2 separate regions of the Homo sapiens genome follow, and region 2 is linked to region 1. Evidence: promoter capture Hi-C in human tissues and cell types (Jung and others, 2019). All regions are on one chromosome and are shown on one strand. Each heading gives the region's core, a stretch centred on a gene start or on the middle of the fragment in contact. The rest is flanking DNA. Distances are from core to core; before and after follow the strand shown. Region 1 holds the start of AGO3 (argonaute RISC catalytic component 3). Region 2 overlaps PSMB2 (proteasome 20S subunit beta 2).

Region 1 (3,678 bases), core at 1,146-3,645:
CGGCTAAGTTTTCTGTTTTTTGTAGAGGCAGGTCTCACTATGTTACCTAGGCTGGTCTCCAACTGCTGGGCTCAAGCGATCATCCTTCCTCAGCCTCCCAAAGTGCTGAGATTACAGGCATGAACCACCACACCCAGCCTAAATTATGGATTTAAAATTTAGTTGCACAGCTATGCTTTCAACTTAAAGCTAAGCATACCAATTATATACAAGTCTCAGGAATAATGAAAATTTTGTTTCTGATGACAATCTTGAGCCAAAGTATAGCTTATCTTCATTATTAGGCTACATTCAATCATGTATAAACTGTACTGAAGAAAAAACTTTACTTTTCAAGAGACCCAGGCATATAGTTGATAATCTAACTACACACTTCCCCAAATGTGAAGACAGCTAAATGGGTATCCATTTCAGCAATGGGACACCCAAAAAAGAAGAGGTAAAATGTATTTTCTGAGCTGTACTTGGCTTAGTTGTACCAGTTGACTAGGTGGTTTGATGTAACAAATGTTTTCTAAGACATTTCCCATATATATGGGCACAATATCATATGAAAAACCCTAAGGAGAAAAAGAAAAAACTTTAAAAACTTTTTTGAAATATCTTTAAAAGTTTTGGGATGATTAATAAAGGGTCTGACCTTCATGACTTGTTTTCCAGACTTGACAACAGGACAGTTATGTACAAAGATCACCTATGGTCCCAAATAATCACATCTCCTGTACAGTAAAACAGTAGTATGGTAATTTTTTTAAAAGGGCAGGACAGTTTCAGAAATACACAAATCAAAACTGAATAAGAGTCGAAATCTTTTCACAATCCAGACAGACCTTTTAAGACGATATGGGGGAAAGCGAAACAATGGAGCAGGAAAAAGAGATATGGTCTAAATTGATTAGAGAAACTTCCATGTAACAAAATTTGTAAAAAAAAAAAAAAAAAATTTGTAACTCTCTCCCCATCTCATCTCCCCAGTTTGAGTGCTTTTTTGCAACCATTTGACACGTAATCTATTCAACAAAGTTCTTAGCTATCGTTATGTCACTGGTTTCTTTTACGTAAGTTTTTCTTATATCAAATTGGCAAAAAGAGATATGGAATTCAGGAACTTGTAACACCATTAGTAACAAGACAGCCCCGCAAATATTTTGAAAATTAATTTACGAACTTGTGATCGTCTGAAGCATACTTTCAAATTTAATAAGCCAAGCATGATCATTTGTTAGGCAAACCGTTATGCAACACCTTTCTGTCCCTGAATTAATTACTTTAGAACCATAAACAATACTTTTCCTTTTTTAAGGACAAGTACTATCCATGTTGCAATTTTCTCTTAAGACTGCAAAACTGCTGCTCTTGCCCCCAGAGATAAAGCAGTTTTCTTAAATTCCAAATTTCCAGGAATATGACAACTACTTCTCTAAGGAATAGAGAATGAAAAAAAATATACTGTCAGCAATTTTAAGAACCACCTCCTCGTATAAGCAGGGATCCAGGCTGCTATGACATTTCCAAGCTCCTCAGAAACTATCTACCATGCTGCCACAAACAACAGAAAAGAACTCGAGGGTAGGAGCAATGCCATGTTGAATTTAACGTTGCACCAACACCTCCTTCGAACTTAATCTGAAGTTATCCGTTATCTCAGCCTATCTTCACAACTATCCTAAGAGGTAGGTAAGGGAGCTGGCTGGCTGCCCAGCCTCTACGGAACACACAACCTGGCTAAAGGACACGCACTCCAACTAGACAATGGCAAACCATTCTAAAGTCTAGAAGAAGGGTACTCCAGCAAAGAGTAATGCCGCCTAGATAACCCCAAACTTAAATCCTCCAAGCGTTTCCCCGCCTCGCAGTTTCGCCGACTCAGGGGCCCCCGGGGAACTGGGGCTGGGCTGCGGGGAGGTCGCGGAGGAGCAGGGCGAGGGGCGGGAGACCGAGCGATGCCCGCCCGACGCTCACCTCGCGCACCTGGGCCGGGCGGGAGGAGCAGGGATGCTCAGAGGACAGTAGCTGGGTGACATCCCCTACCTGGCCCAGCTACTCTGACTCACCTGCGGAGCCGATTTCCATTCATGGAGCTGGGGGGAGTGCTTCGAGGGAGAACGGAGCCCGCCACTGGCGGCAAGGAGGCGGCCCGGGGGGCGACGCGGCGCGACGCGACGGGCACTCTCACTCGGCCCCGAGGCGGGGGCGGCGACGGCTTCCCCTGAGCAACCGCACTCCGAAAGCTCTGGGCCGGAAGAGTCGCGGACGGAAAACGGCACAGGACTAGGCGAGAGGAAGGGGAGATGTGAGGCGCGGACAGAGGGGAGTCCCGTCCGGAAGTTGCATCGCCCGCGGCCGCCGACGCTCCCACCGCTCCTCCACGACTGCGGGCCGCCGCCGCCGACCTGCCCGGGGCCGCCCCGGAAGCTCGCCGGCGTCAGTTCCGCTGCCTGGCTTGCCCGGCGTCCTCGCCTCGCCTCTGGGCCCCGAGCCGTGCCGGAGCGACGTCGGGGCAGGAGCGGCCGGCGCGGAGGACGCCGGGGAGGTGTCCGGGAGCCGGGCCACATGCGGCGGGCTCGGCCGTACCCCGCCGGGCCGTGCCGGCCGGAGACAACGCGGAGGGGCAGGACTACTCGCGCCGCACGAGTGGGGGCGGTGCCTGTCTGCGACGACGTCGCGGCTGGCGGCGGGGCTTACCTGAGGAGTAGCCTACCTGGAGCCGGCGGGTGAAGGACCCCGAACTGCCGCGGAGGCCCCGAGCCGAGCCCGCTGGGGTAGGGCCACCCTCCTTCCTGAGCCCCCGCCACGCCCAGTCCGATCCACCCCACGCGCCGCCTCCTCACAGGCGGTCAAGTGACCACCGCAATTGACCTAAGTCCTAGGCTGCTTTAACGACCATTTTTAGGAAAAAAAAAATGTATTATAGTTTGGAAAAGATGACTAACAAACAGGACACTACACAAACATCAGATCGAGTAATTTCCATGTTTAAAACTCTTTAATAGCGCCTCGTCACACTTGAAAACCCAAACTCCTTTCCAGGGTGAAAACGCACGGCGTAAATGGGCCCCGCCTGTGCTACAGCTATACTGGTTGGCTTCCAATTCTCCCAACGGGCCAACCGCTGCTTTTTTCTGACTTGGAGCTTCTCTGCTTTTGGTTCCCTTGGCCAGGAACCCTCTCTCTCTTCTCCACCCTCCCCTTACGCCCTACCCCACAGCTTTTTTTTGCGTCTCAACGAAAGACATCTGAGACGCCTTTTCCGGACCACCCATCTATGGTGGGGCACCTGTTAGTCTACTACAGTATTGCCTTGGTAGCCCTTTGCCCAGTCTGTTATTTATTTACTACTTGTGTGCCCCCCACCTCACTTGAATGTCAGGCAAATATTAGGTCCTTAATAAATATTTGTTGCCTTAATGAAACATACTATTTTATTCAGGCTGAGGAATCATTCATAATTTCTCCCCATGTCCCTATGCTTCAGTAATACGGTTTTTTTTAATCAAAATAATTTTTTAAAGAGGAAAAGGAGAAAGAATATCCTATCTTCAGTTCCCCTCACTGTGGGACTTTGGATCAGTCACTTGATCTCTCTGGGCTTCAATTTTCTTATCTGAAAAATTGAGAGAACAGCATGTACCTTACACAGTTTGTAAGGTTAGGTAATATACATAAAGCACAGAGAAA
Region 2 (3,725 bases), core at 307-2,806, 300 kb after region 1:
GTATTTTTAGTGGAGGCAGGATTTCACCATGTGGCCCAGGCTGGTCTTGAACTCCTGGACTCAAGCAATCTGCTGGCCTTGGCCTTTCAGGGTGCTGGGATTATAGGAATGAGCCACTCACTGTACCTGGCGTACTTACCTGTGTTTTTCTATGACTTTTTCCCAAAGCATACAGCATTGTTCCTCCTTACTTATTCTAGCCTTGTTGCTATTCTAGAGCTGTCTCCATTTCATCGACAGCATGTTAAAAGATGCAACACTAAGTTAAGGATTGAATGCATTAAAGATTGTGTAGGATGTGCTAGGAAAGTTCATATGGTTGCTAAAGGTGTGTGTTATTCCCTTCCCACAGGGACTAAATAAATAGAGCCTTACCACGTGATCTCACCCCCTGTGCCTGTTTACTTATCTATGAAATGGAGATAACTTCCTAACCCCACAGGGGTGCCAGGAAAATGAATGCTTGTAAATCATAATATTTAACATTCATGTGACTTTTGCCCAAAGCATTTTGCTTAATAATTTAATCTACTCACTATTCCACTGAGAAAGATAGTCTCTATCACTGAGATGAAGTGAAAGGCATAAAGTGTCAAAGGGACTAGCTCCAGGTCACACAGCAGGTCAGACAAAGCTAAAATAATGGTGCCATAATTATTTGACTATTCTGCCTTTGGTTCTTCAGTAGTGTTTCTAGAACACTGATGCTATTCATATTTTTATTATGGTTTGAGTTTTCATCTGTACTTGCTTAAAATAACAAGTTACTTTTTTTAAAGTTACTTACTACAGATCTATAAAGCAGTTTATTTTCTAGTGCCTAATAATCTTTGACTGATAATTTCTCAATAAATAGTACCTCTCAGTGCTAGCTTTGACCAAGGGCTTGTACAATCTGAGGGATCATGAAGTTTGAAGAGAAGCTAGAGACATGTAGGATTGAGAGGAGGAGGCAAATTTACATACATTGTTTTGTCCTGGGTGAAAGATCAGTAGTCTTTTCTTTAAAAAAAAAAAAAAAAATATATATATATATATATATATATATATATATATATTTTTTTTTTTTTTTTTTTCTTCCAAGAAAGTCATTGTCACCAAGTGGTCTTTTCTTCACTCCTCCTTGAGAAAGGAAAATGGGTCAGATATTAGTTTTTCTGTCACCCAGAAGTTCCTGTGGTGTTCAGCATTTTATGACTTGCCATGTACGATGTTCCTCTGACTTATCAGGCAGAACCGGAGTAAGAATTCCAGCTTTGGGCACAATAAATACTGTGTCATAAATATCACAGACATTAAGTGAATTAAGCTCCTTTTTGGAATTGAGATAAGAATGGCAGTGTGCTTCATGCAAATGCAGTGAATCTGGTTTAATCTTCTCCTAGCAGAAATGTTTGATGTCTTAACAAATATCCCTTGTAGACAGTGACATGGGGCTCTGGTAAATATTGACTACCTCTGCCTGAGCTTTTCCAGTAGGTCCAATCTCTGCTCCCCCATCTCCTTATCAAAATAGATTCTTAGTTCTAAAATATGAATTTATATTTTAGTCGTCTTATTCTGGGAAGAGAGATGATAGTTTGTCAGTGTTCCTAATAAGTGCAAAGTCACCAAATTTAGTATATTTATATGGTCACACCAGTTGGCAGATGTGACTCATTTTGGGTCAGCCAGTTACCATGTATAACTTCTGTGTCTGTAGCTCAAATTGTTTGATTTCTAATTTGCTCTGTGTATGTGTGGTGGTTTGGTTGGGAGGACATTTACTACCACTGAGTATATAATGAATCTTACATAAACTGGTTCATTAAAATGTAGGCAATTTAGCATTGTGGTTAAGAGCATAGTCTCTGGAATTGGACTACCTGGGTTTGAATATTTGCTTACTGACTTACTAGCTGGATGTCTTTGGACAAATTCTAAGCTTAATTTCCCTACTTACCAATTTCAAAAAGTTATTATGAAGATTAAATAAGGTAATAATGCAAAGCTCTTACTTTTTTTTTGAGACAGGATCTCACTCTGTCATCTAGGCTGGAGTGCAGTGGTATGACCACAGCTCTCTGCAGCCCCTTGACCTTTCAGGCCCAGATGATCCTTCCACCTCAGCCTCCCTGGCAGCTGGGACTGTAGGTGCATACCACTATGCCTGGCTAATTTTTTGTAGAGATGGGGTTTCTCCATGTTGCCAGGCTGGTCCCGAACTCCTGGGCTCAAGCAATCCTCCCGCTTCTGCTTCCCAAAGTGCTAGGATTACAGGCATGAGCCACCATGCCCAGCCCACTTGTGTTTTTATGCTGCGATTGCTGTTTGGTCAAAGAAGCAATTTAATGGCTATAAGTTAGTTTTTCGTGAGGGATCATTTGTTGTGCTTTTTTTTTTTTTTTTTTTTTTTTGAGATAGGGTCTCGCTCTGTCACCTAAGAGGTGGCACAGTCACAGCTCACTGCAGCCTCAACCTCCCGGGCTCAAACAATACTCCCACTTCAGCCTCCCAAATAGCTGGAACTACAGGCGCCAAGCCACCATGCTGGTATTGATAGGGAAAATAGAAGTAAAATAACATTGAACATATATTATGTGCTAGGATTTTTCTAGATCTACACAGTCCAGTATGGTAGCCAACTAGCCACATGGGGCTATTTAAATTTAAGTTAATTAAAATTAAATAAAACTTAAAATTCAGTTTCTGGTGGAAAATCTCCTGGTAGACTTTGCCTGAATGCTAAATCAACTTTTGTTCTTAAAAAAAAAAATTCTGTTCCTCAGTCACAGCCACATTTCAGGTACCCAATAGCCACAACTATTGTATTAGACATCACAGATCTGGAACATATCCATCATCATAGAAGTTCTCTTGGACAGTGCTATTCTAAATACTTACATATGTATCTGTTATTAAGTATCCTTATTATGACACCATAAGATGTGTGTTATCCCCATTTTACTTACAAGGATGTTAAGTATTTCTCTTAGATATGTTTCCAAAGCACATATATACTATGTTAAAGGTTAAGATTCCAGCTTCAAATATCAAACTCTTTCATGGTGTCTTCTTTATTAATTAGTGGACTAATGTACAAGTGTATTTGTGCATTTAGGGAAACATGAAATGTTCAGTTTTGTTAAAATGTCGAAATTGCACATAGTATTATATAGATAAGTTTGAATATATGTCCATTGTAGGTTTTCAATAAGTGTTTGCTGAAAAAGTGTCATCCAGCTAGGTCTATATATTCTGCTGAGAATATTAATTATGCATTTATACACTGGAAGGGAATTCTTAATGAATGGAATACCGGAAGAAGTATTCTTAATAAATGGATGTTAATTTGTATAGGAATTAAAGGCATGAAATCATCAGAAGACGAAAAAAGACAGATGGGGAAAAAATTCAGAAGCCTTCAGTTTAGTTGTTTATTTAAATGCTTGTATACATTTAAGATGGTCTCTTCTTGTTGGTTAGACCCCAAAGAGCAGAAAAAGGGCTTATACTATGCTCAAGGCTTGCTTTCTTCGGCCAGGCACAGTGGCTCATGCCGGTAATCCTAGCACTTTGGGAGGCCAAGATGGACAGATCAGTTGAGCCCAGGAGTTCAAGACCAGCCTGGCCAACATGGTGAAACCCCATCTCTACTAAAAATACAAAAAATTAGCCAGATGTGGTGGCACACACCTGTAATCCCAGTTACTCAGGAGGCTGACGCAGGAGAATAGCTTGAACCC

Evidence for each region. The method cuts DNA at HindIII sites, captures the fragments that hold promoters and counts their contacts. A contact is called where the count stands out against the background at its distance.
Region 2: a fragment that was not itself captured here is called in contact with the fragment with the promoter of AGO3 in region 1 in 1 of the 25 tissues and cell types used here (adrenal gland).

The regions. Positions count from the first base shown.
Region 1 is chr1:35,929,822-35,933,499 of GRCh38, reverse strand. AGO3 (argonaute RISC catalytic component 3) reads right to left here and starts at 2,395. Exons shown (of 19, transcript NM_024852.4): 1 at 2,055-2,395. The coding sequence starts at 2,073. It overlaps AGO1 (argonaute RISC component 1), which reads right to left. Exons shown (of 19, transcript NM_012199.5): 19 at 2,968-3,678. RefSeq lists enhancers at 1,208-1,730, 1,731-2,255, 2,256-2,779 and silencers at 1,893-2,232, 2,243-2,752. The HindIII fragment of the contact is 14,720 bases long and covers 1-3,678 here.
Region 2 is chr1:35,625,930-35,629,654 of GRCh38, reverse strand. The region is part of intron 3 of PSMB2 (proteasome 20S subunit beta 2); the gene reads left to right. Among named protein-coding and RNA genes, the nearest start is that of PSMB2, 14 kb to the left of the region's middle. The HindIII fragment of the contact is 9,137 bases long and covers 1-3,725 here.